7 separate regions of the Homo sapiens genome follow, and all the other regions are linked to region 1. Evidence: promoter capture Hi-C in human tissues and cell types (Jung and others, 2019). All regions are on one chromosome and are shown on one strand. The core of a region is centred on a gene start or on the middle of the fragment in contact, and the rest is flanking DNA. Distances in the headings are between cores, read along the strand shown.

Region 1 (3,770 bases), core at 286-2,785:
AAATTCTGTATTCAAGGGAGTTTGGAAAATGCTGGGTTAAAAGAGTGAAAAGGTTTTCTCTTCTACAGGAGTTTCAGAGCCTTTAACATGATAATGTTCCAGAATGAGGAATCTAAGAGGACAGGAGAGTACCCAGTATCTCCCAAACTTGTTTGACTCCAGAATTCCTGTTTGTCAGAACATATTCTGGGACCATTGTTTCTCAGAAGTACATAGTAGGTAAGAACATAGTGGATCCTGACTGCAAAAATCCAGCTCTACCACTTACTGTGGTCTCGAACAAAGTACTTAACTTCTTTGTACCTCAGTCTCCTCATCTGCCAGATATGGATAATAAGACCCACTTTATAGGTTCATAGTGAAGATTAAATGACCATACACAACACACATCAAATTACTAAGTGTAGTATATGTTAGCTATTATTATTTTATTTATTCAGTGCTCTACTAATAACCTAGGCCCCATACACAACTGAAGTATAAATTCCAAAAGTGATAGAAAGTTCTTTGTGACTTTTCTGAACTCAGGAACATCTGAAGTAGAGAACAGTATAGAGATCTTGGGTTTGGGAGTACATTCAACAGAGTTTCCAGTTTAAATCATCTGTCTGGTCAGTATGGCTGCAGAGTCATGCCGAAATGAAAATGTTGACTTTGAGTAACTAAAGGTAAAATAAAAGAAAAAGGGAAGGTGGAACAGTGGTAAGAGTTATTCTTGTATTCATCTAATTTAGACTTAGTTGAAATTGAAAATGTCAAGTTATGAGTAGTGTAGAACAGTAGACATCAAACACTTAAAATTCCAGCTTCCTGGATTAATGCTATGGAAAGAATGAAGTTGGTTGATAATGTTTAGCCTAGCAAGAAGGTGAAGAAGAAAGCCATACAAGAAGTGGCTTAGGCAGCAAATTATAAAGGTGACCATTCATTCAAATCAGTAAAACAAACAAGTATACCTTATTCTTTAGGTAAAATTGATGGATCTCTGTTTTCCAGCAGTTCACAAACAGAGGGGTACATTGTAAACAACAAACTAACAAAATAAATTCTGGGATGGCAACCTGCTAAGGTATCCCAGAAAATAAGAGGTAGGACATGAATTTAAAAGATTGGAAGGTATGTCTTCAGTACTGGCCTGGCCCTGAGTAGACTAGTGCTCCCTCCCATAGGGGTGCGTGTGCACACATAATACAGGAGGGAAGCCTTCCCTTCTAGAGCAAGTGATTCAGCTTGGGAGGCTGTGACTGAGCTACACTAAGTAAAAACGGGAGACTTGATTGTCCTTCCTTCAACAGACCTGTCCAAAATGACTGGAAAGTAAATACCGTAAATCACTGTTGTCAGGGCGCACATTCCACCTCCTTCCTCCCTTACCCACAGCGGTCCTCATTTCCACACTCCCTCAACGGTTCGGGGAGAGCTCGTGGTCTAAGTAACGAGAGGACTTCTGACTGTAATCCTAGCACGTCACTTTGTTGAAGGCAGACACGTGGTTCAGAGAGAACTTATAAATCTCCCCTCCCCGGCAAGATCGTGATGTTATCTGCTGGCAGCAGAAGGTTCGCTCCGAGCGGAGCTCCAGAAGCTCCTGACAAGAGAAAGACAGATTGAGATAGAGATAGAAAGAGAAAGAGAGAAAGAGACAGCAGAGCGAGAGCGCAAGTGAAAGAGGCAGGGGAGGGGGATGGAGAATATTAGCCTGACGGTCTAGGGAGTCATCCAGGAACAAACTGAGGGGCTGCCCGGCTGCAGACAGGAGGAGACAGAGAGGATCTATTTTAGGGTGGCAAGTGCCTACCTACCCTAAGCGAGCAATTCCACGTTGGGGAGAAGCCAGCAGAGGTTGGGAAAGGGTGGGAGTCCAAGGGAGCCCCTGCGCAACCCCCTCAGGAATAAAACTCCCCAGCCAGGGTGTCGCAAGGGCTGCCGTTGTGATCCGCAGGGGGTGAACGCAACCGCGACGGCTGATCGTCTGTGGCTGGGTTGGCGTTTGGAGCAAGAGAAGGAGGAGCAGGAGAAGGAGGGAGCTGGAGGCTGGAAGCGTTTGCAAGCGGCGGCGGCAGCAACGTGGAGTAACCAAGCGGGTCAGCGCGCGCCCGCCAGGGTGTAGGCCACGGAGCGCAGCTCCCAGAGCAGGATCCGCGCCGCCTCAGCAGCCTCTGCGGCCCCTGCGGCACCCGACCGAGTACCGAGCGCCCTGCGAAGCGCACCCTCCTCCCCGCGGTGCGCTGGGCTCGCCCCCAGCGCGCGCACACGCACACACACACACACACACACACACGCACGCACACACGTGTGCGCTTCTCTGCTCCGGAGCTGCTGCTGCTCCTGCTCTCAGCGCCGCAGTGGAAGGCAGGACCGAACCGCTCCTTCTTTAAATATATAAATTTCAGCCCAGGTCAGCCTCGGCGGCCCCCCTCACCGCGCTCCCGGCGCCCCTCCCGTCAGTTCGCCAGCTGCCAGCCCCGGGACCTTTTCATCTCTTCCCTTTTGGCCGGAGGAGCCGAGTTCAGATCCGCCACTCCGCACCCGAGACTGACACACTGAACTCCACTTCCTCCTCTTAAATTTATTTCTACTTAATAGCCACTCGTCTCTTTTTTTCCCCATCTCATTGCTCCAAGAATTTTTTTCTTCTTACTCGCCAAAGTCAGGGTTCCCTCTGCCCGTCCCGTATTAATATTTCCACTTTTGGAACTACTGGCCTTTTCTTTTTAAAGGAATTCAAGCAGGATACGTTTTTCTGTTGGGCATTGACTAGATTGTTTGCAAAAGTTTCGCATCAAAAACAACAACAACAAAAAACCAAACAACTCTCCTTGATCTATACTTTGAGAATTGTTGATTTCTTTTTTTTATTCTGACTTTTAAAAACAACTTTTTTTTCCACTTTTTTAAAAAATGCACTACTGTGTGCTGAGCGCTTTTCTGATCCTGCATCTGGTCACGGTCGCGCTCAGCCTGTCTACCTGCAGCACACTCGATATGGACCAGTTCATGCGCAAGAGGATCGAGGCGATCCGCGGGCAGATCCTGAGCAAGCTGAAGCTCACCAGTCCCCCAGAAGACTATCCTGAGCCCGAGGAAGTCCCCCCGGAGGTGATTTCCATCTACAACAGCACCAGGGACTTGCTCCAGGAGAAGGCGAGCCGGAGGGCGGCCGCCTGCGAGCGCGAGAGGAGCGACGAAGAGTACTACGCCAAGGAGGTTTACAAAATAGACATGCCGCCCTTCTTCCCCTCCGAAAGTAAGTACTTATTTTGACTTCCATCCCCTGAGGTTTAGCTCTGCCCGGAGCTCTCAAAACCGCAGCAGCTCCCGGGATCGCCCTTCCCTCTCGCGGTTCCCGTTCGCTCTTTTCCCGTTCTCCTGTCCTTCACCCCACCACCTCCTTTTCAGTTGTATGCTTGAGGCCATCAGGCTTTAAAATGTTTACTTTCTACTTTATTTTCTCCATCTTTCCCTTCCCCCTAACAATTCGGTGCTTTAAAAGGCGTTATTCTCTTTTTCTCTTCCCTGAAGTTCTTTAGTCGGCCACCAGCTAGGAGTCAGCCCCACTCTGTCAAACTAGAGGTGCTCCCAGGGGCAGAGTTAAACTGAGGAATCTTGGTAGGTTTGTTTTCTTTGCTCCGATTGGCGTGGAGCGCGCCGAACTGGTGCACGAAGGGTTAAAAAAAGTGTCTCAAAACTAGCCTCTCCGGAAGGCGCCCCCTTTCCGTGCTGACCTATCAGCTGGTTCCCCAAGCCTTCTCTATTGTCTCTAACTACCC
Region 2 (3,929 bases), core at 308-2,807, 490 kb after region 1:
TAGTACAAATGAAGAAATGGAGGTAAAGCATTTAATTAACTTGTTCGTGTTTCTACAGCTAGTAAGTTTTAGAACCATAATTTAAATTTAGGGAGTCTTAATCCACAGGCTATGGCTTTAACTGCTGTAGTATGTAGTCTCTTCAAGAAAAAAAAGTCTCTTTAAGAGAGAAGTAGTAAAGAATATACTTAACAAGAAACACATAAAATCTGTATGAAGAAAATATTCAAATGCTACCAGTGGAGAAAGGAAGTCTTAGACAAATATAAAAGCATATCATATTTTTGAATAGGAAAATCTAACATCATAAAACAATAAATTCTCTCAAAATTAATCTATAAATAACACTTGATTCCAATAAAAATAACAAGGCATTTTTCTGTGGAATTAGTTTTAAACTTAATATGGAAAACTTTAAAAGGAAAATTCAGAAGAGTATTTTTGATAAAAGAATAGCACAACAGATATTTTTAAATGATTAAAATGTTTAACAGTAAAATGAGGCAGTGTTGGCACATTAGCAGACAGACATGTAAATGGAGCAAACTAGGAAGTCCAGAAATAGGTAGAAATACTTAGGGATTAGCATATAATAAAGGTGGCATCATATAATATATGTCAAATATCTGTGGGGGAAAAGATGGATAATTCAATAAATGGTGCTTAGATAATGGGGAAGCCATCTGGACAAAAATGGATTCACATTTTGTCACTGAAACTAATTCAAGAAAATTGAAGAGTCCACAGTAAAAAATATAAAATCATAAAAGTAATGGAGGGAGAAAACAGTTTATAATTTCAGAGTATGAAAGACCTTTATGTGTGTGACACAAAGACTACAAAAATCACATTGATAAATACAGCTACAAAAAATTAAGACAGTTTATCCTTACCAAACTATCAAAAAGAAAATTAGAAGACGGATGATACAACAGGAAAACATAACAGCTGTCTTAGGTCATTTCCTATTGCTATAAAAGAGTACCTGGGACTGGAAAATCTATTTTAATAATGAGGTTTGTCTCACAGCTCTGAAGACTGAGAAGTTTCCATACTGGGTGGCTGCATCTGGCGAGGGCCTCATGGTACATCATAGCATGGCAGATGGCATCACGTTGTTGGGAGCCTGTGCAAAAGAGATAGAACACAAGGGGCAACCTAGGTTTATAACAACCTACTCTCAAAGGAACTAATCCAATCTTGCAATAACTAACCCAGTATTGTGAGAAAGACATTAACCCATCTTAATGACCTAACTACCTTCTACATGTCCCACCTCCCAACACCATTACATTGGCAACTAAATTTCAACATGAGCTTTGGGAGGGACCATAACAACAACTTACAAAAAATATGCAACTTACTTTTTAAAAATAACTCTTACAAATCCAGAAGATCATCAACCAAAAAGAAGAATGAGCACATGATACAAACTGAGAGACTATTAAAATGTTAAAAAAGAAATTTAAATTCCCCTGAAATAAAAATACTCACTCTTACTCATATTAAAATAAATTAAAATTTAAAACTATGCAAAATTATCAGATTATCAAAGATTCAAAAGTGTGATAACATACCATATAGATGAGGATGAGGACAAAGAGGCACTCTCATACCTTACTAGTGAGAGTGCAAATTCATACATTCACTGTGCAGGGCAATTTGTCAATATCAAATTTAGACTTTAGAAATGAGTATATCACCTATCATGAAGAGTGAATAGAAAGCCATTTGGTTCATTCTTCCCACTGGAAAGAAACAATAACAAAAATATGTGTCTAGAAACATCTAAACATTTTTGAAAATAATTCAAGAGGTCAAGTAAGGAAATGTTAATCCAAAGTGAAGAAAAAATAACTAGAGAAATGAGTACTTAAGCTAGTTTATTTTGAGAGCATTTGCAGAACCTGGTAATGTTATTTTTAATCTTGATAGCCTTACCAAGTGATAAGGACAGAAATAAAAGCAGAAGACACCTTCCACCTGCCCACACACACGGAAGAACCAAAGGACCATGGTAAGGTAAGGGTTAACTGAATATTCCCATGAATCATTTAAAATCCTTTTGGGGGCCAGGTACAATGGCTCATGCTTGTAATCCTAGCACTTGTGGAGGCTGAGGTGGGAGGATAGAAGGATTGCTTGAGGCCAGGAATTAGAGATCAGTCTTGGCAGCATAGTAAGACTTCATCTCCACAAAATAGTAATAATAACAATAGCCAGCTGTGGTTGATCACACCTGTGGTCTTATCTACTCAGAAAGCTGAGGTGGGAGGATCGCTTGAGCCCAAGAGTTTGAGGCTGCAGTGAGCTATGATGGCACCACTGAATTCCAGCCTGGGTGACAGAGTGAGACCCCATCTCTTAAAAAAAGAAAAGAAAAAAAGGAAAGAAAAATGAAAACCACCTTTGCACCTTGATTTGAGGTGATCCCAAACTGTAAGAGATCCAGCAATCTGGCAGGAACAATAGCAAATTATATCTAGATAAATATTCACATATTGTAGGCCTCAATAATTATTTCTATAAATTATTATTTTATGTAAAACATGTAACATACAGCAAAGATAACCAGGCATACAAGGAAATTATACTTGATAAATGGAGGCCACTGTAAAGAAACAAAAAAATAGAAACAGTCTTGCAAATATTCAGATATTGAAATTACCAGACACAAAAAATTAAGTGTTTTTAAAAGATTGAATACATCTGCAGAGAAATCAACTATAAAATAACATAATAAACTTAAACAAATATGATTTCCAGAATTTAAAAAAAACTAAAATTTAAAACTAAATGGACAAGTTTAACAGGCGAATAGACACAGCAAAAGAAAGAATAGATGAACTGAAAGGTAGGTCAGACAAAATGTCTTAGAAAACAGCACTGATGTTTGAAAAAACAGCAAGGCATTCTCTTCTATATAGTCTCTTGTACAACCTGTGGAACTGTGAGTAGAATAAAGTGAGAAATGATAACATAAGCTTAATCAGAATCCCAAAAAGAGAGGAGCGAACCAAACGGAAGAGACAATATTTGTTAAGATAATGGCTGAGAATTTTTCACAACTAAAGAAAAATGCAGATCTACAGATAAATAAATCTCAAACACAATAAAAAAAATTTCCATATCTATTCTCTTGCTACTGAAACTCCAAGATATTAAAGACAAGGAGAAAACAAAAATCTATAAATCAGTAAGAGGAAAAAAAAGCCCTCTTTACCGTCAAAGGAGCAACAACTAAACAAAGAAGTGACTTAGCAAAAATAAGTCAGAAATCATTACAATAATATATGTTCGAAAGAAAATAGTGTCTGGGCACAGTGGCTCATACCTGTAATCCTAGCACTTTGGGAGGCCAAGGAGGGTGGATCACCTGAGGTCAGGAGTTAGAGACCAGCCTGGCCAACATAGCGAAACCCTGTATCTACTAAAAGTACAAAAATCAGCCAGGGTGGTGGCAGGCACCTGTAATCCCATCTACTCAGGAGGCTGAGGCAGGATAATTTCTTGAACCCAGGAGGCAGAAGTTGCAGTGAGCCAAGATCATGCCATTGGACTCCAGCCTGGGCGACAAGAGAGAGACTCCATTTCAAAAAAAAAAAAAAAAAAATCTACAAATTTAGATTTCTCTTCCCAGAAAAAAAAAATCCATCAAAAATCAAAGTAAAATAAACATGTTTAGATTAACAAAAACAGTAAGTTTGACATTAACATATCTACACAAAGGAAAATTCTAAAGCATGTATTTCAAGTAAAATAAAATGATCTCAAAGGGGGTGTCCAAATTGCCAGAAGAAGTAAGAAAAGAGAGACTTGTAAATATGCAGGGAACTTTAAATTAATATTGACTATATAAAAACAGTAATAGGCCAGGCGCGGTGGCTCACACCTGTAATCCTAGCACTTTGGGAGGCTGAGGTGGGCAG
Region 3 (3,954 bases), core at 583-3,082, 460 kb after region 1:
TCCACAGTAGCTGAATTAGTTTACATTTCCACCGGCAGTGTACAAGTATTCTTTTTTCTCTGCAACCTCACCAACATCTGTTATTCTTTGACTCTTTAATAATAGCCATTCTGACTGGTATAAGGTGGTATCTTATTGTGGTTTTGATTAGAATTTCTTTAATGATTAGTGATGTTGAGCATTTTTTCATATGCTTATTGGCTGCATGTATGTCTTCTTTTGAAAAGTGTCTGTTCATGTCCTTTGTTCACTTTTTAATGGGGTTGTTTGTTTTTCGCTTGTTGATTTGTATAAGTTCCTCATAGAATCTGGATATTAGACCTTTGTTGGATGCATAGTTCACAAATATTTTCTGTCATTCTTTAGATTGTCTGTTTACTCTGTTGATGGTCTCCTTTGCTAAGCAGAAGTGCTTTAGTTTAATTACGGCCCAGTTATACATTTTTATTTTTGTTTGCAATTGCTTTTGAAATCTTCATCATGATATCTTTGTGAAGGCCTATGTCCACAGTGATATTTCATAGGTTTTCTTCTAGGGTTTTTATAGTTTTAGGTTTTATGTTTAAGTCTTTCATCCATCTTGAGTTGATTTTTGGATATGGTGAAAGGAAGGGGTCCAGTTTCAATCTTCTGCATACGGCTAACCAGTTATTCTAGCACCATTAATTGAAGAGGGAGTCCTTTCCCCATTGCTTGTTACTATTGACTTTGTTGAAGATCAAATGGTTATAGGTGTGTGGCTTTATTTCTGGGCTCTCTATTCTGTTCCATTGGTCTATGCATCTGTTTTTGTAACAGTGCCATGCTGTTTTCGTATACAAAGTAGCCTTGTAGTATAGTTTGAAGTTGGGTAGTATTCTTTTTCCTTAGGTTTACTTTGGCTATTCAGGCCTTTTTTGTTGTTTAATTCCATGTGAATTTTAAAATAGCTTTTTTCTAGTTGTATGAACAATGACATTGGTAGTTTGATAGGAATAGCACTGAATCTGTATTGCTTTGGGCAGTATGGTCATTTTAACCATATTCTTCCTATCCATAAGCATGGAATATTTTTCGATTTGTCTTTGTTGTCTTTGATTTCTTTCAGCAATACTTTATAATTCTCACTGTAGATATATTTCACTTACCTGGTTAGCTGTATCCTGTAAACTGAAGTTTCAGGATACAAAACTGAAACTGAAAACTGAAGTTTTCCATCCATTCTAGGAGACTTTGAGCAGAGACTCTGGGGTTTTCTAGGTATAGAATCATATCACCCGCAAAGAGATCTAGTTTGACATCCAGTCTTCCTATTTAAATGTCTTTTATTTCTTTCTTTTGCCTGATTGCTCTGTCTAGGATTTCCTGTACTGTCTTGAATAGGAGTGGTGAGGGTGGGCATTCCTGTCTTGTTCTCATTCTAAGGGGGAATGCTTTCTGCTTTTTCCCATTCCGTATGATGGGAAGTATGAGGTTGGCTGTTGGTTTCTTATAGATGGCTCTTATTATTTTGAGATATGTTCCTTTGATGCCTACTTTTTTGAGGGTTTTTAACATAAACAGATGTTAAATTTTATTGAGAGCCTTTTCTGCATCTATTGAGATGATCATCCTGTCTTTGTTTTTAGTTCTCTTTATGTGATGAATCACATTTATTGATTTGTGTATGTTGAAGTAAACTTGCAACCCAGGGATAAAACCTACTTGATCATAATAGATTAGCTTTGCAATGTGGTGCTGGATTCAACTGGCTAGTATGTGTCTATGTTCATCAGGGACATTGTCCTGAAGTTTTCTTCCCTCATTGTGTCTGTGCCAGGTTTTTTGGTGTTTTTGTTTGTTTGTTTGTTTGTTTTTTGTGGAGGTCGGGGAGCGGGCAGCGTTTTGCTCTTGTTGCCCAGGCTGGAATGCAATGGCACCATCTTGGCTAACTACAATGCCTGCCTCCTGGGTTCAAGTGATTCTCTTGCCTAAGCCTCCCGGGTAGCTGGGATTACAGCACCCGCCACCACACCCAGCTAGTTTTTGTGTTTTTAGTAGAGATAGGGTTTCACCATGTTGGCCAGGCTGGTCTTCAACTCCTGACTTCAGGTGATTCACCTGCCTTGGCCTCCCAAAGTGCTGGGATTACAGGTGTGAGCCACCATGCCCGGCCTGTGCCAGGTTTTGATATTGAATGATGCTGCCCTCATAGAATGACTTAGGGAGGCATCCCTCCTCCTCAATTTTTTGGAATAGTTTGATAGGTTGATACCACCCTTCTTTATATGTCTGGTATAATTCAGTTGTGAATCCATCTGTTCCCGGACTTTTTCTGGTTGGTAGTTCTTTAATTACTGATTAGATTTCAGAGCTCGTTATTGGTCTGTACAGATATGCGATTTCTTCCTGGCTCAATCTTGAAAGTTGGGTATTTCCAGGAATTCATTCATTTCTTCTAGGTTTTCTAGTTTGTGTGCATAGAGGTATTTGTAATAGTCTCTGAGGGTTTTATGTATTTGTTTGTGGTCAGTGGTAATGTCACCTTTGTCATTTCTGATTGTGTTTATTTGAATCTTCTCTCTTTTTTTCTTTATTAGTCTAGCTAGAAGTATATTAATCTATTTATTCTTTAAAAGTGCAAACTTTTGGTTTCACTTGTCTTTTGTACGGGTTTTTATGTCTCAATTCCATTCAGTTCAGCTCTGATTTTGGCTCTTTCTGCTAGCTTTGGAATTGGTTTCCTCTTGTTTGTCTAGTTTCTCTAGGTGGGATGTTAGGTTGTTAATTTGAGATCGTTCTACCATTTTGATGTTGGCATTTAGCACTCTAAACTTTCCCCTGAATAATGCTTTAGCTGTATCCCAGAGAATCTGGTATGTTGTATCATTGTTTTTATAAGTTTCAAACAATGTCTTTATTTCTGCCTTAATTTCATTCTTTACCCAAAAGTCATTCAGGAGCAGGTTGTTTAATTTCCATGTAATTGTACAGTTTTCAAAAATCCTCTTGGTATTGATTTCAATTTTTATTGCACTGTGGTCTTTGAATGTGGTTCGTATGATTTTGGTTTTTTGAGTTTGTTAGGAATTGCTTTATGGCCGAACAGGTGGTCAATCTTGCAGTATGTGCCATGCGCAGATGAGAACATATATTCTGTTGTTTTGGGATGGAGTGTTCTGTAGATATCTGCTGGATCAAGTTTAGATCCTGCAGCTTTATTAGTTTTCTGCCTCAATGAACCGTCTAACCCTTAGAGTGGGCTGTTGAAGTTTCCCACTATTATTGTGTGGTAATTTAAGTCTCTTTGCAGGTCTATAATAACTTGTTTTATGAGTCTGAGTGCTCCAGTGTTCGGTGCATATATATTTAGGATAGTTGTCTTCTTGTCGAATTAAACACTTTATCATTTTGTAATTCCCTTCTTTGTCCTTTTTGATCACTGTTGGTTTAAAGTTTGTTTTGTCTGACATAAAAATAACAATCCCTGGTCTTTTTGTTTTCTGTTTGCTTGATAAATCTTTCTCCATTCCTTTTCTTTGAGCCTTTGGGTGTCATGGCATGTGAGATGGGTTTCTTGAAGAGTACACGCAGGTGGGTGTTACTTTTTCATCCAACTTCCCACTCTGTGCCTTTTAAGTGAGGCCTTTAGCCCGTTTACTTTCAACATTAATATTGCTTTGTGCGGATTTGATTCTGTCATTGTGTTGTTAGCTGGTTGTTGCGTAGAACTGATTGTATAGTTGCTATATTGTCAGTGGGATATGTACTTAAGTGTGTTTTTGTGGTGTCGGATAACAGCTTTTTGTTTCCACGTTTAGCAGTCCCTTAAGGACCTCTTGCAAGGCAGGGTGTAATGAATTCCCTTAGGATTTGCTTGTCCAAAAAGGATTTTATTACTCTTTTGCTTGGGAAGCTTAGTTCAGCTTGATATGAAATTCTTGGTTGGAATTTCTTTTTCTCAACGTTGCTTAATATAGACCCACAGTCTCTTCT
Region 4 (4,106 bases), core at 17-2,516, 380 kb after region 1:
AAGGAACAAGATCAGATCAACATCGAACTTCTCTTACTGATGTATAGATTTTTCTTATAACTCTTGATGTAAGAAAATAATAAATTATATTTCAAAGTATTAAAAAAAGAATTCTAAAGCTATAATTTTATACATAGCTAATCAATGTTTTAATACAGGCATGAAATAAAGAGCTACTGAAACACCTATAAATTCCAGAGAGTTTACTGCAAAAAGATTCTCTTTGAAAATATTATGAAGAAAGTAATCTGACAAAAAGAGAAATAAATATAGAATGACACCATAAGAAAAAAATATGAGTAAAATTAGTAAAATTTAATGCTGGCTACAATAATTTGAAACTAAAATGCAAGGTGAAGGGAATTGAGGGAATGTGATATATTATTCTAAGGTACTTGTCTTCTTTAGGGGGAAGACAAAAATATTTATAAAATTAAGAAATAAGGAAATAAAATAATAGTATGTAAGAATTTTAATATATCTATAGTAACCAGAAGAAGAAAGAAACTAGGTTTAATAAAGTATTCTGACCATGTAAAGAAATTTGTATTTCCAATGGAAGGCAGGAAAGAAGAAAACATAATATAAAATGTGTGGTAAATAAAAAATACTAAAAATGCAGAAATAATATGATGTCTATTCTAATACATGTAAGTCAATGAAAATAACTAATCCAAAGCTAAATTATAATACCTTGCAATTATAATATAACATTGGATTACAGTATTTTGATTACAAAACAAGTGCTTAAAACAAAAAGATATGAAAAAAACAGAAATAAAAGAAAGATAAACTCTAGGCAAAAATGAATCAAAAGAAAACCAGATAATTTTAATATCAGAAAAAAATAGAATTTAACTTGAAAAAATAACAAAGGACAAGTACGAACTATATATGCACATAAAGTCAAAATAATAAGAGGTCATAACTATCAGGAACCAAATATGTACCCCACAATGTAGCATCAATATATATATAAAGTAGCAGCTGATAGAATTATAGTGAGAGATAGATAATGTAATGATTGTAGTTGGAGATTTAAATATAACCACCTTGTAATTAAATGGTTAGTAAATAAGTAAAGATATAAAAAATTTGAATAGTATTAATAAGCTTATTAAGAGAGACAGATAAAAAATTACACATAACGAATGACAAATATTCTTTTAAATGTAAACACCAACAAAATAGCCATGTACTAATCACAGATGAAACCAACAAATTCCAAGGTCCAACTTGATGAACACTATGTTACCTAAACATAATATATTAGATTTGCATTAAAATTAAAAAACAATACAAAAGCTTAGAGGACTTCTGTCTAAAATGAATGTTGAATGTATTCCCAGGCCCACTAAATTAGCAGTAAAGATTGTACTATTGCAGATTGTGTGTGTGTGTGGAGCATGTGTATGTCTAATATCTAAACCTACCAGAACAAAAAAAGGACACAGAAAGCTACAGTAAACAGAACCCCCAAAACACATAAATCACTGGCATTAGGTACCTCTGAAAGTCAATTGAAGGTGGGGCTATGTTTAAAAACAGGTAGATTCACCAAGACCATCTGTCCCTTTGTGCCATAAAGTGACTGCTTCTCCTCAACCAAGAAGAGAAAGAGATTGAAGATCTGAAGAGGGAAAATAGATTTAGAGACACTAGCACTAGCCTAGTAGAGAGAGAGCATACCACGCATAAGAAAAAGGGAACTAGGCTGGGGCACGGTAGCTCACGCCTGTAATCCCAGCACTTTGGGAGGCCGAGGCGGGCAGATCACAAGGTCAGGAAATCGAGACCATCCTGGCTAACACAGTGAAACCCCATCTCCACTAAAAGCACACACACACACACAAATTAGCCTGGCGTGGTGGCAGGTGCCTGTAGTCCCAGCTGCTTGGGAGGCTGAGGCAGGAGAATGGCGTGAACCCAGGACGCGGAGCTTGCAGTGAGCTGAGATCGCGCCACCGCACTCCAGCCTGGGCGACAGAGCGAGACTCTGTCTCAAAAAAAAAAAAAAAAAGTAACTAATTCGAAGGCTACACTTAAAATGTTGAGAATTTCAAGCTTTTTTTTCCACTTAAATCTCAAAATTGGTAGCCAGGATTCAGGATTATATTCTTTAAGTAGAATCTTCACTGGTGAAAATGACTAGCCCAAGAGGAAACACTAATAGCACTTCATTGCGGGTTCTATAACAAAACATCCCAGAAATATCGACCTACATTAAGTACATGATCAACAAGCCTATTTGTGTTTCAATCAACTTTTTTATGGACATTTCAAAATATACCAGAAAGTTAACAACGAACAGATATTTGAAGATTTCTAAAATTAAATATAGAGGTTAAAAAACAACATAAAACAGCAATTTAGGGGGTCCTAAGATGATTCAGGGAGAAGAAGTCTTCACATAAACTATCAAATTGCTAAAGAGATGAAATATTGCTCTCATAAGACAGTAGGATGATATAACACACATAGAACACAACGTAAACAACAAAACAAAAAGGGTCCATAGAAATTACAAACATTATAACAGAAATAAAATACTTAATAAAAGAATTGAAAGATAATACTTAGGCTATTTTCCCTCCAAAACAAAACAAACAAAAAATGGAGCAAAAGACAAATAATTGATTATAGATAAACCTCAAGATATTGATTTCCTAAATATATAGGGTAGCTGAGCAAAGTCAAAGTCCTGGTTTTTATCTCCTAGAGGACAGGGCTATGCAGAGAATGGTCAAAATAGAGCAGGGCCTAATGGTACTCCCCATATGAAAAAGGTCACGAAGAACTCTTTTGGATAACTGAACATAAATATAACAATAACCAGCTAAAGGAATTGAAAATGTTTAGCTGGGTGAAATGCGCGGCATAAGGGAAATTCTACTTCATAGAATTGTTTTATTTTCTGTATTATATGCATGTGCAGAAAGAAATAAATAGATTAATTCAGTGCCTAAACTATGCAGCTAACACATTCGTCCCCTAGCTGAGGCAAATAGTGTCTACTGATGGCTCACAGCTGATTTTCTTGTTGGAAATTGCCCTCAGCTTTAGGAAACTTTGCTGCCCAAGATTATGCCCTCTTCAAGTGGCCAGTGATCAATAACTGACTGGTATGGAAATACAAAGGACTGACCCATTTTCATTTAGTTAGGAAAACAGTGAAATATTACCTCAGTTTCATAACTCCCCATAGAATCAGCTGAGGCATCAATTGCCAATGTATTAAGGTTGGCTTCTTATGCCCAATCCTGTCTTATTTCTTTTATTTTCTTTCTTTCTTTTTCTTTTCTTTTCTTTTTTTTTTTTTTTGAGACGGAGTTTCACTCTTGTTGCCCAGGCTGAAGTGCAATGGCGCGATCTCGGCTCATCAAAACCTCCACCTCCTGGGTTCAAGCGATTCTCCTGCCTTAGCCTCCTGAGTAGCTGGGATTACAGGCATGTGCCACCATGCCCTACTAATTTGGGATTTTTCGTAGAGACGGGGTTTCTCCATGTTGGTCAGGCTGGTCTTGAACTCCTGACCTCTGGTGATCCGCCTGCCTCAGCCTCCCAAAGTGCTGGAATTACAGGTGTGAGCCACCGTTCCCGGCTATCTTATTTATTTTCTTATAGGTTTGTTTACCAAAAGCACTCCCCAATAAAAGTTATTCATGTGAATTTCTGTGTCAGAATCTCTTTCTTGAGATTCTAATCTAAGACAACATCTAACATGTATTTGGAAGGCATCTCAATCTTACTACTAATTAGAAAATACAAACTAAAATCGGTGAGTAATCTATTTATACTCATCAACGGACAAAAATTAGATAGATGATACCAAGACAAGTTTAGAAAAGGATAATCTCTTCCTTTTAATTGAGGCTTTTAGACTATTTATATTTGATATTATTGGTAAGATTAGGTATAAATCTATCATCTTGTTATTTGTTTCTATTTGTTCCATCTATTCTTTGTTCCCTCTATCTTATGCTTTGAATGGATCTTTTACTCATGCATGATTTTGTAATATGATTCACTAGCCTTTGGAAAATATTGGTTCACTGAATTATGCAGAATTTCCAAATGTTGACACAAATTATTATATACATCAAAAT
Region 5 (4,320 bases), core at 375-2,874, 470 kb after region 1:
TTCATTTGTTCCTAAGCTGTTTATTTTGCTTATAAAACCAATCATAACATCTACCCAATAAAAAGAGAAATGCATAAAAGTTATAACTCCAGAAAAGTTAACTGTTGAAGCCTGAAATTCCCCCAAGCAAAGCCAGAAGTCATTTTAATGAGACAGAATTTTCTCTTTGAACTTGGGAGGGCACACGAAACAAACTTGCTGAGAAAATTCTTCTTTTATCCTTCTCTAGAACTCTCCCCTTCAAGTCAGACTGTGGCTAAGCTTGGGATTGGAATTACTGGCCTAAGCAGGCAGAAACCTGGAAACAGTCTTCTACTGTTTTGTAGCACAAGAAAAACTGCTTAAAGGGCAGTGTGATGTGCATGGTACAGTATGGCACAGGACAGCCTGCTGCAGGGCGGTGCGTACTGTGGGTGTGCTATTGACCCCACCCCTCCTCTACTCGTGCCCTATCACATAAACACCAACTCTCACTATTGCACACACAGACACACACCCGCCCCCCTCCCCTTACAGAGCCAGACTGGACATCTGTGCGTTTGGAACCTAAGATACTAAAAGTGTTATGAAATGGCCTTCTGCCTCCTCTCCCCCTGCAGCTAAAACCCCAGAGCAAGGCTGATAAGCTTACTGAGCAGCAAAACCCTCACAGAAATGAGGAGAAACAGAACAGCCAAATCTAAAAGGTGCATCATCCAATTTGTTTCAGACCTACTAAGACCAGCACTGGCCATATGGGATCCTGTTTTGCAAAAAAATTGGACACAAATCAAGGGTTTTGTTTTCTTGGGTTTAAAAACTTTTCATCACTTTTTCCTTCTAGCATAAAAATACAACACTAACTACTTTACCAGGAGAAGCAAAAGCGTTTGAAAAATAATTTCACCCCCTACCAGCGCCTGCTATTGAGATCAGTGTCGGTTCCAATTTGTTCCTGACTCTCAAAATTTTTTTTTTTTCTCATTGGGAATTTTCTCCTTATGTGACTACTGAGGCAGGGCATCTGTGGCATACAGAGTCAAAGAAGTGAATAAAATAACTTTATATGTGGAAGCTATGCTCTTGAGGATGGCTTTCTCTCTGGACTTTCTAAGATCTTCCTTTGTATGATACATTTCAGTCCACAGAGTAATTCCCATGCAAGGAAGCAGCAGCTCAGTGGTTGGGCATTCCCGAGATGGGGCAGAGACAACGCTTTTGGCTGCATCATGAAATAACACACATTAAGTTCATTCTTTTCATCTTCAAAGAACAACATAAATCTTCATCCTTTAATTCTTCTTGCGGGGTGGGATCATTGTTATTGCTGATATTATTGTTATTACATCTTTTGTAACTCTTTTTACTACTTACCCTCTACTTGCCTTACCCCTTTTTACTGAAACTGAGGCACCAACTTGCAGAATAGAAGACCAAACAAAACCATACCAAAGGAAGAATGCCGTTAAGGCTCCCAGACATGCCCTTTCCATTTTCTGTGCTGTGAGGACACCTGGGTCCCTCAAATTATCTCTCATTGTTGTAAAGTGTGTTCCACGTAGTACAGCAGAGATCCATGAGATAAAATATCCCCTTGTGGTGAAGAAGATGTATTTCTTCAGATAACACTTTGGAGAAATATTTAAGAACAGGACTGTGACCCAAGGGTGACAGATCTCCTGTAATATCAGAGAACATAGGAGCACAGAGATTTTTCAGGGTTCACTTGACCACTTGCTCACACATGTCCTTGAGATAGTTACTTACTTGCTCTAAATCATAGGTTCCTCACGTGCCTGGCATTTGAAGAAGATTTAGCAAGGTTAAGCATGTAGAATGCTTAGCACCATGCCTGGAGCATAGAAAGGGTCCAATAGATGTGAGCTGTGATTGTGCTATGGTGGTAAATTCACTTGCTAGTTGGTGCCTTTTTGCAGGCAACCATGAAATTCTTGAAGATCTATTTGCACTTTAACACAAGGTAGTGGGTTAAAGTAGATTGAACATGATCTCCCAGAAATGGATTGAATATCATTCCTTCATATGAGGGCTTTGCCAGCAGTTCTACCTCCATCAAGAAATGTGTATTCTTTGAGCTTTTACCTGTCCCAGGGTTATTTGAGGCTGGAATAGGATAACATAATTAAATTGCTCAGCTAACATTAGGCTCTCAGCAAATGCAGATTTCCTTCCTATACTTGTCATTCTTATAAGCAGAGATAGCTTAGAAATTTGCATGACTGAAACTATCGTTTTTTGCATTTGTTTCATGTCACTTTTTAAAAAATTATTTTACTTTAAATTCTGGAATACATGTGCTGAACGTGCAAATTTGTTACATAGGTATACATGTGTCATGGTGGTTTGCTGCACCTATTAACACGTCATCTAAGTTTTAAGCCATGCATGCATTAGGTATTTGTCCTAATACTCTCCCTCCCCTTGCCCCCCACCCCCTGACAGGCCCCGGTGTATGATGTTCCCCTCCCTGTGTCCATGTGTTCTTATTGTTCAACTCCCACTTATGAGTGAGAACATGCAGTGTTCAGTTTTCTGTTCCTGTGTTAGTTTGTGGAGAATGATGGTTTCCAGCTTCATCCATATCCCTGCAAAGGACATGAATTCATTCTTTTTTTATGGCTCCGTAGTATTCCGTGGTGTATATGTGCCACATTTTCTTTATCCAGTCTCTCATTGATAGGTATTTGGCTTGATTCCAAGTCTTTGCTATTGTAAAAAATGCTGCAACAAATCCAGCAGCACATCAAAAAGCTTATCCACCACATTAAAGTGGGCTTCATCCCTGTGATGCAAGTCTCGTTCAACATAAGCAAATCAATAAACGTAATCCATCACATAAACAGAACCAACGACAAAAACTGCATGATTGTCTCAATAGATGCAGAAAAGGCCATCGATAAAATTCAACACCCTTCATGCTAAAAACACTCAATAAACTACATATTGATGGAACATATCTCAAAATAATAAGAGCTATTTATGACAAATCCATAGCCAATATCATACTGAATGGGTAAAAGCTGGAAGCATTCCCTTTGAAAATTGGCATAAGACAAGGATGCCCTCTCTCACCACTCCTATTCAACATAGTATTGGAAGTTCTGGCCAGGGCAATTGGGCAAGAGAAAGAAATAAAATGTATTCAAATAGGAAGAGAGGAAATCAAATTGTCTCTGTTTGCAGATGACATGATTGTATATTTCGAAAACCCCATCGTCTTAGCCCAAAAACTCCTTAAGCTGGTAAACAACTTCAGCAAAGTCTCAGGCTACACAATTCATGTGCAAAAATCACAAGCATTCTTATACACCAATAATAGACAAGGAGAGAGCCAAATCATGAGTGAACTCCCATTCACAATTGCTACGAAGAAAATAAAGTACCTAGGAATACAAGTTAAAAGGAACATGAAGGACCTCTTCAAGGAGAACTACAAATCACTGCTCAAGGAAATAAGAGAGGACACAAATATTAGATGGATCAATGAGACAGAAAATTAACAATGATATCTAGGACTTGAACTCAGTTCTGGACCAAGCAGACCTAATAGACATCTACAGAACTCTCCACTCCAAATCAACAGAATATACATTCTTCTCAGCACCACATTGCACTTATTCTAAAATTGACCACATAATTGAAAGTAAAATACTCCTCAGCAAATGCAAAAGAACAAAAATCACAATGAACTGTCTCTCAGACCACAATGCAATCAAATTAGAACTCAGGATTAAGAAACTCACTCAAAACCACACAACTACATGGAAACTGAACAACTTGCTCCTGAATGACTACTGGGTAAATAACGAAATGAAGGCAGAAATAAAGATGTTCTTTGAAACAAATGAGAACAAAGACACAACGTACCAGAATCTGTGGGGCACATTTAAAGCAGTGTGTAGAGGGAAATTTATAGCACTAAATGCCCATAAGAGAAAGCAGGAAAGATCTAAAATCAACACCCTAACTATACAATTAAAAAAACTAGAGAAGCAAGAGCAAACAAATTCAAAAGCTAGCAGAAGACAAGAAATAACTAAGATCAGAGCAGAACTAAAGGAGATAGAGTCACAAAAAACCCATTAGGAAATCAATGAATCCAGGAGCTGGTTTTTTGAAGAGATCAGCAAAATAGATGGACCCATAGACAGACTAATAAAGAAGAAAAGAGAGAAGAATCAAATAGACACAATAAAAAATGATAAAGGGGATATCACCACCGATCCCACAGAAATACAAACTATCGTTAGAGAATACTATAAACACCTCTACGCAAATAAACTAGAAAATCTAGAAGAAATGGATAAATTCCTGGACACA
Region 6 (3,687 bases), core at 865-3,364, 400 kb after region 1:
GCAGTGCAAGAACTGACTAATAAAGGCTGAAAGAATATTATCCTGATAGCTCATATTCCACTACCCGTTTGCTGAACTACTTCTAAGTTAATTGCAGACATGACATTTCACTCCTGAACATGTCTACTTGTATCTCCAAAAAAGAAGGCACTTTCCTACATAACCTTAATACTGTTTTTACATTTAAGAAAATTAACTGAGTCCGGGCGCGGTGGCTCATGCCTGTAATCCCCGCACTTTGGGAGGCTGAGGCGGGCAGATCACAAGGTCAGGAGATCGAGACCATCCTGGCCAACATGGTGAAACCCCGTCTCTACTAAAAATACAAAAATTAGCCAGGTGTGGTGGCATGCACCTATAGTCCCAGCTACTTGGGAGACTGAAGCAGGAGAATCACTTGAACCTGGGAGGTGGAGGTTGCAGTGAGCCAAGATTGCACCACTGCACACTCCAGCCTGGGCAACAGAGCAAGACTCCATCTCAAAAAATAAAAAAAAAAAGAAAATTAAGTGTATTTCCTTAATAGCATCCAATATTCAATCCATATTCAAAATTTCTAAATTGTCAACAAAATATTGTTTGTGGCTTTTTTTCTGAAACAATCCAGCCAAACTTCGCACATTGGATTTGATTCTTTTGTTTCTTTAGCTATTTTATTCAAGAACAGTCCTCAACCTTTTTTTGCTCTTAACTTTGACTTTTTAAAAACATACCACATTAGTTTTCTTGTATAATGTCCCACATGTTAGATTTGTTTGTTTGTTTCCTTGTGGTGAGATTTAACTTATGACTATCCCATATATTTCCATTGGAAATATCTAAACAAGGGCTTGTTTAGATTTTGGTTAAATTGTTTTGGCAAAAATATTCCACAGATGATGTTACATACTTCATATTGCACAATATCAAGGGATCCCACTATAACAACGCTAAATTTGGTCATATGATCAAAGTGCAACCACAGGATATTTCTATAGTAAAGTTATGTTTTTCCTTTGGATTGGCAAGTCGTGTGTAAGATGCCATTTGGCATCACAATAATGCTTTATTTTCCACCTACGTTTAATCTAATGGTCTTAGTAGACTTTCTTGATCCTTGTCTAATTTAATTATCTTGGGGGAATGGCACAATGGTGATTTTCTATCTGTTTATAAGCTCACATTACTCTTTATAAAGAAGGACTTTCTTCTACCATCTGTAAATAAACATCGTTTACTTTAAAAAACAAAAAACAGAGGGGAGGTGGAGCAAGATGGCCAAACAGAACCCTCCATTGATTGTCCTCCCTACAGGAACTCCAAATTGAAAAACTATTCACATAAGAAAGCACCTTCATAAAAACCAAAAAGCAGGTGAATGATAACAATACCTAGTTTTAAGATCATAACAAGAAAAGAGGCACTGAAGAGGAAAGGAAAGACAGTCTAGGATTGCCAGTACCGCCCCTCCCTGATTCCTGGGAGTAGCAGTGGCCATATGGTATGAATAGAATATCTGCACATCTCGGGGAGAGAGAGTGCAGTGATTGTGGGACTTGGCATTGTAACTTACTGCTGCCCTGTCACAGCAGAAAGCAACATGGGGCAGAATTCAGCCCAGGTCCACAGAGGGAGCATTTACACCAGACCTAGACAAAGAGGAGTTGTCCAGGCCAGTGATCAAAACCTGAGTTCCAACTAACTCTGTCACTGTGGGCAGAGAAGAGGAGAGGGAAAAGTAAAGAGGATTTTATCTTGCGAATTGGATACCTGTAGCTCAGCTACAGGCAGATTCCTGAGGCCCCCCATTCCAGGCCCTAAGTCCCAGACATTTCTAGACATACCCTGGGCCAGAAGGAGACCTGCTGCCTTGAAAGGAAGGCCATAGTCCTGGCACGATTAATCACCTGCTGACTCAAGGGCACTTTGAATAAACATCAGTAAACATCAACAGTTGCCAGGCAGCATTCACCATAAGCCTTGAGTGAGACCCAGTCTTCACTTCAGGTGTGACCCACCACATTCCCATCTGTGGTGGCTATAAGGAGGGTCTCCTTCTGCCTCAGTGAAAAAAAAAAAAAAGGATGGACGTGGTGGCTCACGCCTATAATACCAACACTTTGGGAGGCCGAGGTCAGGAGATCAAGACCATCCTGGCTAACGCGGTGAAACCCCGTCTCTACTAAAAACACCAAAAATTAGCCGGGCGCGGGTGGTGGTGGGTGCCTGTGGTCCCAGCTACTCAGGAGGCTGAGTCAGGAGTATGGCGTGAACCCGGGAGGTGGAGCTTGCAGTGAGCCGAGATTGCGCCACTGCACTCCAGCCTGGGCGACAGAGCAAGACTCTGTCTCAAAAAAAAGGAAAAGTAAAGGAACTTTGTTTTGCAGTTTGGGTTCCAGTTCTGCCACAGTGAGACAGAGCACCAAGTGAGCTCCTGGGGTAACCAGTTTCAGGCCTTGGCTCCTGGATAACATTTGTTAACCTGCCCTACATCAGAGGGGAGTCCACTTCCTTGAAGGGAGAGATTTAGGCCTGGCAGCATTCACCATAAGCTGACTGAAGAGTCCTTGGGCCTTGAGTGAACATTGGTAGTAGCCAGGCAGTACTTGCCATGGGTCCAAGGCAGTGGTAGCCATGGTAAGAGACTCCTCTACTTAAGGAAAGGAGAAAGGAAAGTGGGAAGAACTTTGTTTTGTGGCTTGAGGGCCAGCTCAGCCGCAGTAAAATAGAATTTCACGTAGATTCCTAAGGTTCCAGACTCCAGGTCCTGGCCCTTGGACAGCATTTCTGGACCTATCTCGGACCTGTGGGTAGCTTGCTGCTCTAAAGGGAAAGACACAAGTGTGGATGTTTTCAATACCTGCTGATTGTAGAACTCTGGGGCCTTGAGGGAACATTGGTGGTAGCCAGGAAGTGGTTACCTTGGGCAAGACTCAGTGCTGTGCTGGCTTCAGGTCTGACCTGGCATAGTTCCATATGCTTGTGTCACCCCTCCCCCAGCACTAGGCAGCTCAGCATGAAGGAAGAGAGACTCCATTTGTTTGGGGGAAAGTAAGAGAAGGAAACAAGAGTCTCTGTCTAGTAATCCAGAGAAATCTCCTGGATCTCACCAAAGACTAAGGAGGTACCTCTATGAGTCTGTAAGAGTCACAACATTACTGCCCTTAGGGTGCCCCCTAAGGCAGATAGGGATACAGTGATCAAAGATGTAGATCACAACACACAATTTTCTTGAAAAGCCTTCCCAAGACAGACAGGCACAAATAAGCCCAGACTACAACGACTACAATAAATATCTAACTCTTCAATGCCCAGATATTGACAAACATCCACAAGCATCAGGGTCATCCAGGAAAACATGATCTCACCAAAGGAACTAAATAAGGCACCAAGGATCAACCTCAGAGTGACAGGGATATTAAGCCTTTTAGACAGACAATTCAAAATAGCTGTTTTGAGGAAGTTCAGTGAAATTCAAAATAAGACAGAGAAGGAATTCACAATCCTATCAGATAAATTTAACAAAAAGATTGAAATTTTTAAAAAAATGAAGCAGAAATTCTGGAGCTGAAAAACTCAGTAGACATAAAAGGAATGCATCAGAGTCTCTAACAGCAGAATTGATCAAGCAGAAGAAAGAATTAGTGAACTCGAAGGCACTCTACTTGAAAATTTATACTCAGAGGAGACAAAAGAAAATAGAATAAA
Region 7 (4,159 bases), core at 822-3,321, 430 kb after region 1:
ATATTAGAGCGAACTGCAAGCTTTAGGTAAAGAAGCCATTAAGGACGTTCCTCCTCTCATTCATAACTGATAAGTGAACTGATTACAGCAGATCTTTTCTTACTTAGTTCCTTACACATGGGCCTCTAAGACACTTCTAAGGTTTTAAGCTTCTTTTTCTGTCCCAATGAATTTGAAGATATGATTTCAATTGAGTTATTTTCCTGGACACCTTTGGAACACTAGGGGTTAATTCACTTTTACTTTGTTTGTAAATCTTCCCTTAAGACAGTGAGCATGGGCATGGGCACCCCTCCCCCACAACACCCCTCCTCATTCCCCCAGAGAGAGGCCCAGCACCAGAGATTAACTGGGAGCTAAATGCAGGCTGGTGGCCAAACCAGAGTGATAAGAATCCTGATTTTGATGGAACACTTAAAAATCATTTTAGCTTTTCCAGACCTAATCCAGTTAAAGGATGTGGGGGTGGGAGGCCTTCTTGTGGGTTATACAAATAACTTCACTCCAGTAACTCCTCTTAACCTAAGATTGAAGGGGCTGTGCGAATGAGGGGGAGGGGGCCCCAACTCTATCACGTGGCCTGCTTCTACTCTTCAACTGGGTGTTTTTTTATTTGTTTGTTTTGGTGGTTACACAACCTGGCTTATTACTGTCAGTCTATTAAAAAATACCCCATTTTTCACAGAAGAGCTATGTGAGTGCAGGGCGTCCTGATTTACTGCACAATCTTTGGCTGCATAGTTAGGGCGCCATCTTACATTTGTCTTTCTGTTTATGTGGGGGCCATGATAAGAAGTGAGGCTGACAAACTCCAGGTCATTTCTGCAGATGAGGATCCTGAACAGGAAGCACTTTTTAGAGGCCTCCATGACAAGAATTTTCTCAGAAATCTATACTGATTGCATAGTTTTAAGAAGTATTATTGGCTTTTGTTGCAGTGGGAATTGTGGGAATGGACTTTAGCTAATGATGTCTGAAAGTGCAAGGCAGCTCTGAAAATGAGAGATTGAAGAAGGTGAGAGACCCAAGCCCCTTCTTTTGCTTATTATCAAAGCTCTACCCATTACTAGCAGTTTGAGGAAAACTGTGAAATTCTTCACACAAAGGCAAAACCCAGGCATGATTATGGTAAAAGCAATACTAACAGTGCTTGGTATTCCCAAACTTTCACGGTGCCCATCATCAGCATGGGCATTTCTGAGATAATAGGTAAAGCGGAGAGAAGGATAGAAATGAATTTAGCTCCTGCACGTTAGTGTATAGCCAAGAGGTTTGTGAGAATATTGAAGTGCTCCTGTTACAGCTAGTACATAGTTTCTATAGTGGGCCCTCTAAGTGCCTTCTCTAAGCATCCTGACCCTCCCACCACTGTGATTTTAGCCTGTACTGTTTTTAACTACTTTCAATATTGTCCCTGAAGAAGAAGGAAAGCCTTTTGGATTTCCTTGGGTGTTGACAGGGGTTTGGGAAGCAGAGTATAAACTTAATTCATCTAAACAAAAGAAAATGCGTGGATCTGGGCTATGCTGAGGACCACATATATAAAATGGGAATAATATAAAGCTCATAGGGTAGTTTTAAGGATGTTTTTTTTTCTGTTCAAAATGTACTAACCATCAGAGAGTTGGGGTGTGCAACACCTAGGTACCCCAGCACTGCATAGGACAAGCCATGGTTTCACAAGGGATTTACAGGACGGCCCTATCATCCTTCTTCCTATGTCTTAAAGTTTTGCCCATTTTAAACCAGTTCCACTTGGTTCAGATTACTCCATTACTCCCATCTTCCTCTTGGTGCTTATGTGTTTAGATCCACAAAGCCCTAACCCATTGCTCTACGTGATTATATATTCTTTTTAGCGTTTCTTAAATCTTTCCTGTGCTTGAGCTTTCTCACCTCTTATGTTGGAAACTCCTTAGGATTGGGAGCATGAGATTTCCTGAGGACTCCACCTGCCCTTGGCCATCAGGGTTGGTGACTGACAGAGTGGCCCATGCATTCTGCCTAGCCTGGACATGGTTCACCATTCTCTCCGCAGAGAGCATTGGGCAGAGGAGTAATATTGATCAGAGATAGCTACTATGGAATATATACAAAAGCCAGGGCTCTGTCACTTCGTTTAAACTCACATTACACTTGTGATGAAAGATACTTTTATTTCCACTTCATAGATGAGAAAACTGAGCCCTGAGAGGCTACATCAGTCATCCCAGGACAGCTGGCAGTTTCTCTTATCTCCCAGTGTGATGCTCATTTGACTTTTATCTCACCATCCCTCTGTGACCTTGTTCTCAGACTGTCTAGATGGCAGCTTGTTACTGGAGTCAAAGCTCTAATGGGTGAAATTGCAATAAGTTGTTGGGACAGCACATAATCCATCATAATCTGATATTGATCACCTTATTACCTAGACTTTTCATTACACTTCTCCTCGAGAAGGGTAATGCTTAAAGCACAGAGATCATATGTCTAATGACACCCAGTGGGGGTGGTTCAGATAAGGAAAGAGTTAAGGGTCTACCAGGAAACCCTCAGATCATGTTACATGTTACCAAATTATGGATTTGGGTAAAAGTAGAATTGATTGTGTCATGTGAGTAAGATTTTCGTAGCTGATTTTTCAACTCTCCAATAGACTGTCTTGCATGTACCAGGCTCAGAAGGGACACGGCACAGAGGATGCTGAGAGGCAGGGGAGGTGGTCAAGGAAGAGCTATGCAATGCTCAACTCCGAAGCCATGTGGTCTGATGGAGAAGGCAATCTGTGTTCAAATCTTAGCCAGGCCATCCTTTAGAAGTCAGATCTTGACAGAATCACTTCAAGCATCTGAGCCTCAGGTCTACTCATCTGTAAAATGAGAATAATAACTGCCACCAACTCCCTGGATTATGTTGAGGATTTGATTAGGTAGTGTTTATGGAGCATGGCACGTGTTCTCTACGTAACAGGTGTTTCCCTCTTACTCAACATTCCTTTATTCGTATTTAAAGGCAAAAATGGACTGACCAAATACTATGTGGTAAACAAATGAGAACCAAGCTCAAGGGATGGGTATCATTTTCTTAAACATACACAGACACACACACAGACTATGTGACAGGATGGGAAACTGAGAATCTAGATGAGATTTTATCCAAGGATAACAAGCCCAGTGTGGGTTTGGATGCCAAAAAAAAAAATGGTGACAATGCTACACTCTTCATTTTGGAGAGTCATGATGGCTAATGAGTCACCACTATGGTTATAGCTTTGCTTTGGGTAATGGAGATCTGCAGATATATCCAAGGGATCGAATTTTCCCTAGTAATGTTGAAAAAAGATGCACAGATAAACTTGTTTCTCTATCACAAGCTGCAGCCTTCTCTGTTCAGCAAAGAAGAAATGGTAATGTTTGAGTCCAAAGCTGGCCTGCCCTCCAGACCTGGAAAGTGCCCTCCATTATAGAATTCTGCTTGAGGTAATAATTTACATAAAAGGAAAGAACAATAAAATTTAGCTAAAAACAGCCACCCAAGTCCATCCCCCACCTCCGCTGCCATAAAGCTGATATAGCAACTGGGATTAAAATGTAACCTGAACCCAGAGAATTTTTGTAAATAAGATGAAAGCTGCCATTTAAGGTTTCTCAATGGCACCAACTGGATTAGAACTTCTCTTGAGATAGGAATCTTTTGACATTCCCCGGGAGCTGTATCTGCTTACTGGAAGGCACAGTTGATGCATGCAAAGTCAATTAAAAAGCTAACTGCATAAAAGACAGTGGCTGCACACGATTCATGCTATGCATTTCCCAGACAACCCTGGCTTTGTTTACTAGGGTTTTATGCAGAGTGGCAATGTGGGTAGTGATTTGAGACTGAAATCTGAAAGTCAAAAAATAAAAATAACCAAACTAATTCCTGACTGTAGAGGATCAGAGAAATTCTATACCTGCCATAGATATTTCTATAAATAATAATTTAATCTGACATAGGACTTTAAAAAAATAAAGCCCTTTATATTGACATTTGAGTATATGTATGTATGACTCGTGTGTGTGTGTGTGTGTGTGTGTGTGTGTGTGTGTGATGCCAAAATCTTAGGTTTTTATAACTTGTGTCATTTCTTGCAAACTGCATCTCTTTTTCAAAAATACTAGAGAATAGTACTTTCATTGTC

What was found. Contacts are between HindIII fragments. The study calls those that stand out against the background at their distance.
Region 2: a contact is called between a fragment that was not itself captured here and the fragment with the promoter of TGFB2 in region 1, in 1 of the 25 tissues and cell types used here (thymus).
Region 3: a contact is called between a fragment that was not itself captured here and the fragment with the promoter of TGFB2 in region 1, in 1 of the 25 tissues and cell types used here (mesenchymal stem cells).
Region 4: a fragment that was not itself captured here is called in contact with the fragment with the promoter of TGFB2 in region 1 in 2 of the 25 tissues and cell types used here (IMR-90 fibroblasts and aorta).
Region 5: a fragment that was not itself captured here is called in contact with the fragment with the promoter of TGFB2 in region 1 in 2 of the 25 tissues and cell types used here (IMR-90 fibroblasts and aorta).
Region 6: a contact is called between a fragment that was not itself captured here and the fragment with the promoter of TGFB2 in region 1, in 1 of the 25 tissues and cell types used here (mesendoderm cells).
Region 7: a fragment that was not itself captured here is called in contact with the fragment with the promoter of TGFB2 in region 1 in 3 of the 25 tissues and cell types used here (heart left ventricle, liver and mesendoderm cells).

The regions. Positions count from the first base shown.
Region 1 is chr1:218,343,801-218,347,570 of GRCh38, forward strand. TGFB2 (transforming growth factor beta 2) reads left to right here and starts at 1,536. Exons shown (of 7, transcript NM_003238.6): 1 at 1,536-3,247. The coding sequence starts at 2,902. TGFB2-AS1 (TGFB2 antisense RNA 1) reads right to left here and starts at 1,878. Exons shown (of 3, transcript NR_046268.1): 1 at 1,803-1,878; 2 at 1,375-1,588; 3 at 396-662. RefSeq lists a silencer at 1,464-1,523 and enhancers at 1,904-1,953, 3,085-3,585. The HindIII fragment of the contact is 13,667 bases long and covers 1-3,770 here.
Region 2 is chr1:218,838,252-218,842,180 of GRCh38, forward strand. No RefSeq gene overlaps it. Among named protein-coding and RNA genes, the nearest start is that of LINC01710, 78 kb to the right of the region's middle. The HindIII fragment of the contact is 4,884 bases long and covers 1-3,929 here.
Region 3 is chr1:218,798,784-218,802,737 of GRCh38, forward strand. No RefSeq gene overlaps it. Among named protein-coding and RNA genes, the nearest start is that of LINC01710, 120 kb to the right of the region's middle. The HindIII fragment of the contact is 6,551 bases long and covers 1-3,954 here.
Region 4 is chr1:218,722,258-218,726,363 of GRCh38, forward strand. No RefSeq gene overlaps it. Among named protein-coding and RNA genes, the nearest start is that of LINC01710, 190 kb to the right of the region's middle. The HindIII fragment of the contact is 4,462 bases long and covers 1-3,497 here.
Region 5 is chr1:218,817,499-218,821,818 of GRCh38, forward strand. No RefSeq gene overlaps it. Among named protein-coding and RNA genes, the nearest start is that of LINC01710, 99 kb to the right of the region's middle. The HindIII fragment of the contact is 5,444 bases long and covers 1-4,320 here.
Region 6 is chr1:218,741,169-218,744,855 of GRCh38, forward strand. No RefSeq gene overlaps it. Among named protein-coding and RNA genes, the nearest start is that of LINC01710, 180 kb to the right of the region's middle. The HindIII fragment of the contact is 3,896 bases long and covers 167-3,687 here.
Region 7 is chr1:218,775,238-218,779,396 of GRCh38, forward strand. No RefSeq gene overlaps it. Among named protein-coding and RNA genes, the nearest start is that of LINC01710, 140 kb to the right of the region's middle. The HindIII fragment of the contact is 5,281 bases long and covers 1-4,159 here.